Regions from separate parts of the Homo sapiens genome. Here regions 2 and 3 are each linked to region 1. The links are contacts of gene promoters, found by promoter capture Hi-C in blood cells and fetal thymus (Javierre and others, 2016). All regions are on one chromosome and are shown on one strand. The core of a region is centred on a gene start or on the middle of the fragment in contact, and the rest is flanking DNA. Distances in the headings are between cores, read along the strand shown. Region 1 holds the start of COQ3 (coenzyme Q3, methyltransferase). Region 2 overlaps PRDM13 (PR/SET domain 13). Region 3 has its middle 16 kb from the start of PRDM13.

Region 1 (3,828 bases), core at 608-3,107:
GTTTATAAAGTTGAATTACAAAACAGACATTAAGAGTTTTAGAGCAAAATAAATACGCAGACTTACGGGTGAGACCATAACAATAATAGTCTGGGGAAATATCTCCAACAATGGCCATATACTGCATTACAGCCATTACAACTTTCCAATACCACTTAGGCTTAAGGGTCATTGGGAAAGCCCTTTGTTGATGTTTGTAGCGAGAAATACTATGAGCTAGTTTTGCTTATTTGGGCCAGACCTGTTCTGGGTGTTCAAAAGACATACTTGTCAGCATAAAGCAAATCATTGATTCCCCTTCTTGTTAAAATGTAGTGGAAAGGCTCTGAAGCCCAGTGAAGTGTGGTACCTTCAAAGAAAGTACATATAAAGCTCCTAGAACTTTATTTAATTGTGCTTGCACTTTGCTTTTTCCTTGGATGTGTCACTCCAATAAATACAAGACGTGCTACATTTTCTTTTGTGCAGAGCTTTCTGCCTTCATGTGGAGAGAGGATCATGTATCTAAGGGTAGAGGAGCTCTGAAGAGGACATAGCAACTGAAAAGTGCGACCACCCTTAGGAGGAGGTCAATATTTTAGCTAAGAACCATGAATGAAAGACTATTGCTGTCTGGGTGAGGTGGCTCCCACCTGTAATCCCAGCACTTTGGGAGGCTGAGGCAGGCAGATCACCTGAGGTCAGGAGCTTGAGACCAGCCTGGCCAACATGGTGAAACCCTGACTGAAAATACAAAAATTAAGCCGGGAATGGCAGCATACACCTGTAATCCCAGCTACTTACGAGGCTGAGGCACGAAGAATCACCCGAGCCTGGGGGACGGAGGTTGCAATGAGCTGAGATCCTACCACTGCACTCCAGCCTGAGCAACCGAGTGAGGCTGTCTCAAAAAAAAAAGAAAAAAAAAGATTCCTGAGCGGTAAATTTCGCTAACTGAAAGAACCCTTTACCAATTTGACCCTACCTGTTGAAAATACAGAATAATTTTTTGTCTTCAATGTTGGAGATTCGTCATTGTTCTTACCCAAAGAAAGACTTTGTGCATTTAGACGTAAAATGTTACTGATCACTGTTCCTAGCTCTAAATGAAGTTTGCCTAGACTGAGCCACAGAAGCCTCCTACTACATGATGTATATACCCTGTACAAGATAATAGTCATTTGCAGAAAATAAGTTTTACATTTGGCCTTCTGGCCATCTGATATTTGAGTGCCTTGAAAGGGGAAACAATTCTTCCCTTGAGGAAGAAGTGCTCCCATACTCTTGCATTCTTAGCAGTAGGGTCAATGTCTTACAGGAATATAAAAGTCCTTGAAGAGACATCTGTTAAGTGTGAAATAGAGCTACATGGCAATAAAAGAAGACACAGCACGAAGTAATGGCCTGATTGAGGTCAACTTCGAACATGAGGTTTGAGGTGTCCTATAGCAATAAAGTATCTTCAAAGTTGTTTATGATAGTAAAAACATCTTGCAGTTTAATTCCATGTGCAATTTGCTAAATGAGCGTGAAAGTATAGCCATACATACATAACACTCAACAATACAATCATGAAAGTCGGCTGCAGGCCGGGCGCGGTGGCTCACGCCTGTAATCCCAGCCCTTTGGGAGGCCAAGGCGGGCGGATAACCTGAGGTCAGGAGTTCGAGACCAGCCAACATGGAGAATCGCTTGAACCCGGGCGGCGGAGATTGCAGTGATCCCAGAATCCGAGATGGGGACTGTACTCCAGCCTGGGCAACAGAACAGACTCTGCTAAAAAAAAAAAAAAAAAAAAAAGTCGGCTGCAGACGGCGAAAGTGATCTCGGAACCTTTATGTTGGGGATCTTTTTTCGGGAGGGACCGGAAAAGAGGTGGGATCGTTTGTCGCGATGTGGAGTGGCCGTAAGCTGGGCTCCTCCGGGGGTTGGTTTTTAAGAGTGCTGGGGCCTGGAGGCTGTAATACAAAAGCTGCGCGTCCCTTAATTTCCTCGGCGGGTGAGTGTGTGTGCGGAGGTCCTTCGCATGCAGTCAATTGCGAGCGCTGGCGTCTCTGCGCATGCGCCGGGGGTGGGGCGGTGGGTTGTCTCTGGACCTCGCGAGGGGTCAGCGCGAAACCTAAGGCTTGGTCCTGGCCCCATCTCTCTCCATTGTAAACCTCGCATAGTCCCGTTGGCGGACGCCGGGGAAAAGAGCTCAGGACCAGTGGTCCTGTCTGGAAAAGCGCAGGCCGCGGGTCTCTTGTGGCTGAGCTCCTTGCCCCAGGAGCCGGCGACCCGCTCTGCGTGTGCTGCAGTCTGAAGGTCATGCATCTTTCCTTTGCCGGGGCAGGAATAACTCACGCCTCGTAGTTATGCATAGCTTTGTATCTGTGTTTTGTTTGCACAAAGCTTGCTGTTTTTTTCAGAAAGAATTTAAGGCAGCTGTATTACTTTTTGATTAATAGGTTAATCCAACAGACTGCATTTGCAAATGAGATCAAGAAAATAATGCACTGCTCAGTGCTTGTAGACAGCAGTCTGATTTTCGAACTCTCAGTATTAAGTAGAAACTTAAGCTCATCTTTCACATGGAACTCTTAACAAATACTGTATGCCAGACACTGGTATGAGCACTGGGAATTTAAAAATGAATGACACCGCAAGGATCTCTTTAAAAATGTTAGGATAAACCTAAGATCAGGATATAATGAACAAAAAAATGGGGAATCTAACCGCCCATTAATAAAGGTTATTAGTTGGTACTATCATACAGTGAAAAATAGTACAGCCAATAAAAATGATTTAAATCTATTTGTACCCACATGGAAAAGTAGTAAGATATAGTGTTAAGAAAGTAAAGTTTCATTGTTTCCTGGAAGGAGCCAAAAAAAAAAAAAAGTTACAAATCAGTATGTATAGTGAACTTGGAGTTACAGGTGGAGATATATAGAGAAATTTTGCAGTGATTGCCTGTGGTAGAGTAGGTGATTTTCTATCATTTTATCCTTTATATACTTTTCTTTTTCTGAACTTTTTTTAGTAAACATGTGTCTTTTATAATCAAAAATTTAGAAAAGATATAATAAACCTAGTTCCAATTTTTGAGGGGTGAACATAGAAGGAGCATTTAATCCATATTTGGGATCAAGGAAACTTCTTGAATGGGATATTTAGAGAAATCTTGAAGGAGGTGGCCAGTTTTAGAAGCAGTTGGTCGAGACAGGCAGCTCACTTGAGGTCAAGTGTTCGAGACCAGCCTGGCCAACATGGTGAAACCCTATCTACTAAAAATACAAAATTAGCTGGGCGTGGCGGCAGGCGCCTGTAATCCCAGCTACTCGGGAGGCTGAGGCAGGAGAATCGCTTGAACCTGGGAGGCAGAGGTTGCAGTAAGCCAAGATCACACCATTGCACTCCAGCCTGAGCAACAGAGTGAGACTCTGTCTCAAAAAAAAAAAAAAGCAGTTGGAGAGGGGAAAGGACCAGCTCGAGAATCTGTGAGAAAGTTTGTGAGAAACTGCAAGGTTCCTTGAAAAGTAAAGTGTGTAGGTGGAGGGCAGAAGGTAAAGGCAGGGGGTGGCAAGGGATGAGGAAGAGGCCTTTTTGGCCATGACACATTCATGAAAGGCCATTTACACCTCCTGAGGTAGACTATCCCGCGGACAGTGGAAATCACTGAAGAAGCAACATGAACAGATTTATGTTTAAGAAATAACACTTGGCAGCTGTCTACATAGAATGTGGGATGGAGTCAGGCAAGTCTAGGCCCAGGAAGACCTTAGAGCAATCCAGACAGTAAATTATCATTGCTGGAAATAAAGTATTGGTAGGGTAAAAGTCTGTCACCTGTTTTATTCACCATCAGCA
Region 2 (3,828 bases), core at 355-2,854, 220 kb before region 1:
ACACCATTTAATTTGCTGGGAGAAAAGAAAAAATTCTTATGCCCTGATACTCTAAAAAGGGTGATGATAATCTAAGAAGGATGATGTTGCATTGTCTTGTCTTGTCTGCCACTTGGTAATTAATTAACTCCTAGATAGCTGCACAAATCCAAGCTTAGTAAAGTCTTTGGAGAAAATATATTAGTTTTTTATTATATGAATATATATAAATGATATAGATCGATAAATAAATATAGATACTCAGCTTTTAATAAGTGCAGAATTCTCTACCGGGCACTATATACGTGTTTGGTGTGAAATCTTTTTATGTGTTTAGTATTATTAGCATTAGTTTATTCATTTTGCCCGAGTTTGTGAACACAATCAAGAGACACATATATGAGACATTCTGATCACATACTAGAAGTTAATTTCCACTTAAAAGGGTCATATTACTGCTGTAGAGAGAAATGATCTTGCAGTTGGGTTTCTTTTAAAATGTGGTTGATTGATAATACTGAAGGGAAAGATGTCTGAGAAAGAAGTTAGTTGAACCGCAAGGAAATATCCAAAATATACATCAGTCTCATAAAATTTAACAGGAAAGTTAAATTCTCCCTCTGCATATATGAGCAGCTCAAACTTCTGAAATATTACTACAGAAATAACAATAGGGAAGAATTCCAGATCTTCTTCCCTTTATGTATATTAACTTCTGGGTTTGCATAACACAAGTAGCTCCCACCCCTACCCCATAAGACCTGTGAAAACTCAAGTGATAAGCACTGCATTCCAACTGAGTCCAAGGAGAGCAGAAAGAAAAATGGGAGAAGAGTATTTGCCTATGACACCCTACCCTAATCGTTTATAGAAGTCTTAGATAAAACCATTTCAATATTCTGTTACCTTGTACTGAACATTCATGTAAAATGAATCGTGAAAAAAAGAGAGAATAGACCTCCTGGGTTCTCTTGGTGGGTATGTTGTCTTAAATAACTTCCTTCTAACTTCAGAGCCTTTCTCTCTCTCATCACCCCTTTTGAAAGAGGGAGTTTTCAGAGTCTGCCGCAGAATGACTCAGCTCAATGCAAAGCCACATAAGCTTTTTTCTTAAAATGAGGGGGCAGTATTTTCCTCCATCTTACTATGAAATTGAAACCCACTGAAGTTAGCTAGTATTAGGAGGATAGCAGCCATCCCTATTTATTTCTTCCTCTTTCCAAGCTTTAAGCAGCATACGTTTAATATATACTTTTTTTCAGTTATCCTAACTGACATATTCTCCAGACTCTGAGATCCAAATCATGCCAAGAGTATCAAATACATTTAACAAGTGACTGCCTCCTCTTCATGTAACTCTAAGGTGGTCAAGAGTTCAAACTTCTCCAAGCTGGGGAAGTCAGGGTTCAAAATCACCCATGCCTTCTCACCTCCAGAAAAAAAAAATGTTTATTTTGACATCTGTTACCATATGATGTTTATAAGCTCAATTGGCTGAAAGGAAAACACAAGGACCGCTATTCCAGTTGCTTTTGTACTATTTGGGACTACCTAAGAAAGGGTGTTCTCTGTAGAAATGGCTGGCTTCTAAAGGTTAGTGGCCCGCCAAATTCTATAGTGGCAGATTTGAGAGTTCTCCACTATGTGGCTTTTATTATACTTCTCTTTTTACTGGAAGAAGTTGACAAGAGAATGTAATATAATGTGATGCAAGGAACAAACTATTTTAGGATAATTTGAATACTATACCTACAAAATAAACAGAATTAACTTACAGAGGACGATGATACTTTAAAGTGATTCATTGTTTTGAATAAACTTCATTCTGTGTTATTCATGAAGTGTTTCCTAATTCACATACTTGTATTGATTTCTCTAAACCTATTTCTAAAGGGATGAGATTGAGCAGGCAATTCAGGAAGACAGCATGTTAGAATATTTCACAGCATTCATTATTTTGATGTTAAATGTGTCTTTAGGAGAAATTACAGACAATTGTCAAAGAAAAAAAGCCATGGAAGCTTTGTGTGTGAAAAGGAAGTCTCCAAAACCTCAACTATTCTAGCACCTCCTAGACTTCTTTCCACAGGAAGTGTTCTTCAGTGTTCAAGGGTAGGTTTAAAAATGTTTTTCTGTTTAGTTACTGCACCTTAATTTGCATAAATCCGCTCTTGGCTTTGAAGGGATCAAATAAATCTGAGAAGAAACTGGGATACATCCCAGATTCAACTTAAGTAGGCAAGGGGAAATGAATAAATGCCACTTAAATGGAAGGGTCTCAGTACCTGCCAACTGACCAGCTGTAAGTACCGTAATACTTCTAAAATGCTGTAGAAATGCACTGCTCTCCTGGAAAGCCAGTGGAGAAGAAATGTCCATGGACTTTGTAAAAGCATTCCAGGTTTGAGTTATACTCTGTGGAACTCATGATGTAATTACTGTAACAACAACTTAAGGCTCCTTTTTTATTTTTTATTTTTATTTATTTATTTTGAGACAGGGTCTCACTTGTCACCCAGGCTGGCATGCAGTGGTAACATTACGGCTCACTGGAACCTTGACCTCCTGGGCTCAAGTGATCCTCTTGCCTCAGCATCCTGAGTAGCTAAGACTACAGGCATGTACCGCCGCACCTGGCTAATTATTTTTTTGTTGTAGAGACAGAGGTCTCACTATGTTGCCCAGGCTGGTCTCGAACTCCTAGCCTCAAGTGATCCTCCTACCTCGGCCTCCCAAAGTGCTGGGATTACAGGTGTGAGCTACCGCGCCTAATTTTTTTTATTTTAATTGAGTAAATAATGGTCTGTTTGAATATGCAACAGAAAAAGGATGGCCCCATTAAGTTCATAGAGCCTACTTTTTCCCCTGCCATTGTGAGCCAGATTGCTACTATCACTGTTATCGTTTATGGTTGATTTTAAGGAGGTAGTGGCGACCTCTCTCCTCTTTGCCTTGAAATACAGGGAATGTGAATTCCATTTTACATAGATCGAGCTATGTCTAGGGACTCGCTTCAAGACAGGAGGAGGAGGGCTGGACTTTTGCCCATCCACGCTTTTGGAATGGGTACCTTTCTCGTCGTGAGTCGGAGTCGCTGTGGTGGGGATGTCGAACCACTGAGCCAAGGAGTTAGAATACCACACTGTCAGCTCCTCCCCTGGCTGGACGTCTCGCAATGCTCGGTAGAAGATCTGGGACGCAAGGAATAGAACAGTTCAATGTCATTTCCTGGGTAATCGGTCAAAAAGCAACTGAGAAGAAAGGTTCAAATCCGGATTCTGATGCTGTGTGACCCTGGAGAAGCTACTGGAGCTCTCTGAACCTCACTTCCGTCATCCTTCAAACGGAAAAACAATAGTAACTACCTTAAAGGGTTGTCGAGACGTTTAAATGAGACGTCTAGCTAAAGTACTTTGCTCTTAATATTTTTGGCCACCGCAGGGACGGTTAGGTAGACTGAATTGGCGGTGGGGAGTGGGGGGGTGTGGAGAGAAGCCCGCAGTACCTGTCCTCCGGGTAAGTCTGCAATAGCTTCCAGAGTCTGTTCCTGGGAGTTTCTGGCTGCCCGGATTAACCCTATCCACTCCAGAGGGGAGCCCCCCGACTCGTCCACCAGCTCCCCTCTCACCATGCGCACCTGCAACACAAGCAGTGGTCGTTCTCCCCCGCACCTTGGCCAGGCCCACAACCCAAACAGAAAGTTTATCCTCCACCCCAACCCAACACAGGAAAGTGGTTGTTTTTGGTTTGGCCAGACCACTATGGGCTACTGGGAGGAGGAGAATTCCTTAGGACCTTGCTTCGGGGAGGGAGAAAGAGGAAAGTCTACCTATGCTAACAGTACTCCCA
Region 3 (3,828 bases), core at 74-2,573, 200 kb before region 1:
AGTGTTGTTTTATGTCACTAAGTTTTAATAACCAATTAGTTATTCAATGACAGATAATAGATAGCTACCCCTCCTCTGAATGAATATAATTAAATACAACAGAGATAAATGTGGGGGAGACTGCCTTGATTCAAATGATCAGTGGTCTAGAAATGTGAGAAGGTAAACTATTTAGACAAGAGATAGCCAACAAACTGGGGATTGTGACTGATCACAGGTATGGAAGATATTAAGATATCAACCCAAAAACCATCATCCCCATATGTTTTTTGCTAGCAGAACCCTGAGTTTGTGTAAAAGTGGTCAAGTGCTTTAGGGAATGCAAAGTCCCTCCAGACTCCAAGAGGTGAAACTTGATTAACTTAAGTCAGTCATGGTAGTTCCTTTACCTTCATTTTTGACTGGTTTAGGAACAGGCATGTGAAACAATTATGGCAAAAAAAAAAAAAAAACAAGTGAGAGCAAGTGTTTTGGAAGTACATGGGAACCGTTTTCTTTCATCTTAAAAAGGGTGTCTAAAAGAAAACAGTCTCCATTATTTCTGTGTTTGCATGTTTTGTGAGAATGAGATTCTTAGAAAAGCAGCAATCAATTGTGAGGAAACAAACCTGAGGACAGAAACCAATATCCACATCAAAGAATAAAGAAATGTTAGGTGTTTGTTTGAATAATTAGGCAATAGTTTCTGTAACCTAAATGTGAGATGTGGGTATTTTGATTTGCTTCTTTCTCTTGCACATTGGGAATTGAAATGAGAGGGTGTTTTGACTAATTTTTCTAACTAATGTTTTGCCTCCTATGCTTGCAATTAATTTACCTTTCAGTATTGTTTGGTCTTTTAAAAACTGGTTAGAAACTTGTAAGAACATTACAACTCTATCTCCTTTTCTGAAAATAAATGTGAACAATCGATTCTACATTCTTGATACAAGAAATGTTACAGTGAACGCTGGAATCTCAAAAAGACTTCTCTCTCTGGAGCAATGCAATTAGATTTTCCAGTGATTAAATGGGTCATCGCCGATAAGAAGTTATTGCTCAGGGCATAAGATTGTACTTCATTCCATCAAAGTGATGCTCAAGTTCAGAAAGCCGCACAGAAAGCACCCTTAGACAAACACAGACGTGGGAAAGGAATAAACTTGTGAGGCTCCATCAGTTTCCCCATTTGGCTCTTCAGCCCCCTTGCGAAACTGTCTGACCTCGGGCATCTGCGGAAACGCAGACGCTGAGGAAGCACCGACAGAGGAGCGCTTGGGATCTCTGCGGGCCCAGCCCAGACCAGTAACCTGCAGCCAATGACTGACGTCCCAATCCCTAGTCTGGGGACTGGGGGCTGGGGCGGCGCCACGCTGCTTTCCCGGGAGCCAGAAGACTCTGCTGGACCACCGAGCTCACGTGCAGAAAAGCTCGAGGCCCAGCCTCTGCCCCTGTGACAGGCGCCCAGGGAAAGAAGAGAGCCCTGGCTTCCTCAGGGGTCGGGGGATGGGGATGGTAAGGACGCCGCGCCGGGGTCCCTCTTCTGTTGGGGGTGGACGTGCCAGCAGGTCAGGCTGTTTTCCTGAGAGGACGGAAAGGGAAGGCTCGCTCCTGTCTCCTCAATCCCAGGGCCCCGCGGAACCCCCCTTCTGCGCTGGAACTTGGCCTCTTCTCTGCAGTGTCTCCCCCCCACGTCTCAGGCCGAGTTTATGCCTTCTTAGAGATCGACTTCTGTCGCTATGGCCCTTTCAAATCCTAGAAAGCAGCCTGCGGAGAGAGAACCGCGCGCTGAAGTGCAAGTGGCCACGCGCCTCCCGGCGGGCGCCAGCAGCTGCCTCAGGACGGCCGGCAGAGCTAGGCGGCTGCGTCCGTGGGCACCCCACCCCCGCCGGGCACCACCGCCCCGCGCTCGCGCCCTGCACCCTACCTGGTGCCTCACACCCCTCGGGGAGCGCTGCTAACTTGTCGGGGACAATGCGCAGTGAACCGGCCTTAGGGTTCCGAAGCTCGCACAGTGGGAGGAAGGCGACGAGGGGAAGGAAGGCAGATGCCCTCTGTGACTGTACCAAGCTGGTATTGGACTCCCTAGGCAAGAAGCCTTTTAAAATAATTTCATTAAATGCTTTTTTACTGATGATAATGACATCAATAATAATAAAAGAGATCCTGGCGCTCACATTCGTCTGTAAGAGTTTGGTAGCCCCTCTCTTGGTATGACCATCATTCATGCTTTCCATGAACACACAATGAGCACTCACTGTGCGGCAGCTCTGCTCGTGCTTGACTAGGATCATCCTAGCCCCTCCCAGGCCTCTCAAATATGAACTTCCCCCGTGTTTTCAGGAGCACTGCAAGGTAACTGTTACGTAGTTTTCAAAAAGTCTGGAGAGCCTGGTGACCATGACAAAGAAAGGCACAGTCATACATAGGAAAAGGATGTCTAATTTACTTGCATTGTTCCAGGCTCCATGCCAGAGTCAGGCCTAGGTTTTGATCCTCTGGAGAAAATGTACCAAAGTCGATGGTTTGAGGGACGTCAGTCACTGCCTTCTGGAAGACTAGGAAGACTGGAAAGATTATTTTTCTCATGCTTAACTGTTTACCTTTTTTTTTGTTAAGACAGGATCTCCCTGTGTTGCCCAGGCGGAACTCAAACTCCTCCGCTCAAGCGATTCTCCTGCCTCAGCCTCCCAACAGCTGCGAGTGCCATCGTGCCCTATTACTTTTGTTTAAAAAGGTTTGAATATTTAAAATCAGTTCCATTTAGTCAAAGAGTTACAATTATAGTTCAACTAAACCTGCAGTCAATGTAAGTATTCATACCCTAAGAAAAAGCACCACAAAATGATGTCTGTGATTGTTAACGGTTGATTGGTTTCCTGTGTCCATAGTGGACAATATTATGAAGCATAGACAGAGAAACATGTTTACTAAGAAGCTTTTTTTTCCTTCCAGGAAATTCTGTAGGTGAAAATGTTGAAATTGTCAGTTGAAATATCTGGTGAAGTCTAACATTAACATTAAATAAAAAGCAAGTGACAGGAGAGTACTGATGTATATTCCTCTTGGGAGATTAACTCTTTCTCTGCTAGTCCCCCCCTCACACCCCCACCCCTGAATTTGCCCACAGCCATAGCAGGGCCGTCAGTGTTTCGGGATGCCAGGCAGACGTAATTCGGCTTCAGAGCGCCTTGCTTAAGCAAAAGGCTGTGTGTACGTTCCCCAGGAGTCCGAGGACGGGCAGGCTGGCAAAGGCTGGCCCTGGTCACCGCTGGGAGAGGACGCCCCCGGGCTGGCTGCTGTTGCTGCTGGGGCTACTCCTCCCCGCCCCGGTCCTCCTCCAGCTTCTCAGCCGCAGCCGCGCTTCCTGCTCTGGGGCTCTCGCAGCTGTTTAGGTTTAAGGTACAGGAGGAATTTCAAGCTTTTTCTGATCCCATCCCACCCGCCCCCATCCCCCGTGAGACTGGCCTCTGGGCACCACGGTCTCTTCTGTCTCCATCCAGCTCAAATCGAAGCTTGGAGAGGAAGCCCCACAGCTGCGGTTCGACCCTGCCCCGGCAGACCGAGATGAAAGCAGCTTGCGGAGGCTGCTCCGGCACCCGGCGCGGGCACGCGAGGGAAGAAGCCCCGCGCAAAGCAGCGCAGCCTTGGCTTTTGAAGCTGCCCTCTATGCACTTCCTCCGGCTTCCAGCCGGAATCTACGACCCATCCGCAGAGCGGGCTGGGTAAGGTTGTGCGGCAGCAGCAACCCCGAGGGAAAGAATTTTGTTTCTTTTTGAGGCCCTGCTGCATTTCTGGTTCCCAGCCTGGAGCAGGGGGCGCCTCGCTCCCCGGAGTCCCACAGGCTTG

Evidence for each region. Contacts are between HindIII fragments. The CHiCAGO score rates a contact against its expected background, and 5 or more counts as called.
Region 2: a fragment that was not itself captured here is called in contact with the fragment with the promoter of COQ3 in region 1 in 1 of 17 cell types (total B cells); the score reaches 5.3 in total B cells.
Region 3: a fragment that was not itself captured here is called in contact with the fragment with the promoter of COQ3 in region 1 in 4 of 17 cell types (M2 macrophages, total CD4 T cells, M0 macrophages and 1 more); the score reaches 6.7 in M2 macrophages.

What each region holds. Positions count from the first base shown.
Region 1 is chr6:99,392,224-99,396,051 of GRCh38, reverse strand. COQ3 (coenzyme Q3, methyltransferase) reads left to right here and starts at 1,857. Exons shown (of 7, transcript NM_017421.4): 1 at 1,857-1,978. The coding sequence starts at 1,873. RefSeq lists an enhancer at 1,962-2,601. The HindIII fragment of the contact is 4,880 bases long and covers 1-2,372 here.
Region 2 is chr6:99,608,529-99,612,356 of GRCh38, reverse strand. PRDM13 (PR/SET domain 13) reads right to left here. Exons shown (of 4, transcript NM_021620.4): 2 at 3,485-3,616; 3 at 3,050-3,170. Among named protein-coding and RNA genes, the nearest start is that of PRDM13, 3.6 kb to the right of the region's middle. The HindIII fragment of the contact is 797 bases long and covers 1,206-2,002 here.
Region 3 is chr6:99,588,962-99,592,789 of GRCh38, reverse strand. No RefSeq gene overlaps it. Among named protein-coding and RNA genes, the nearest start is that of PRDM13, 16 kb to the left of the region's middle. RefSeq lists an enhancer at 3,474-3,643. The HindIII fragment of the contact is 3,193 bases long and covers 1-2,919 here.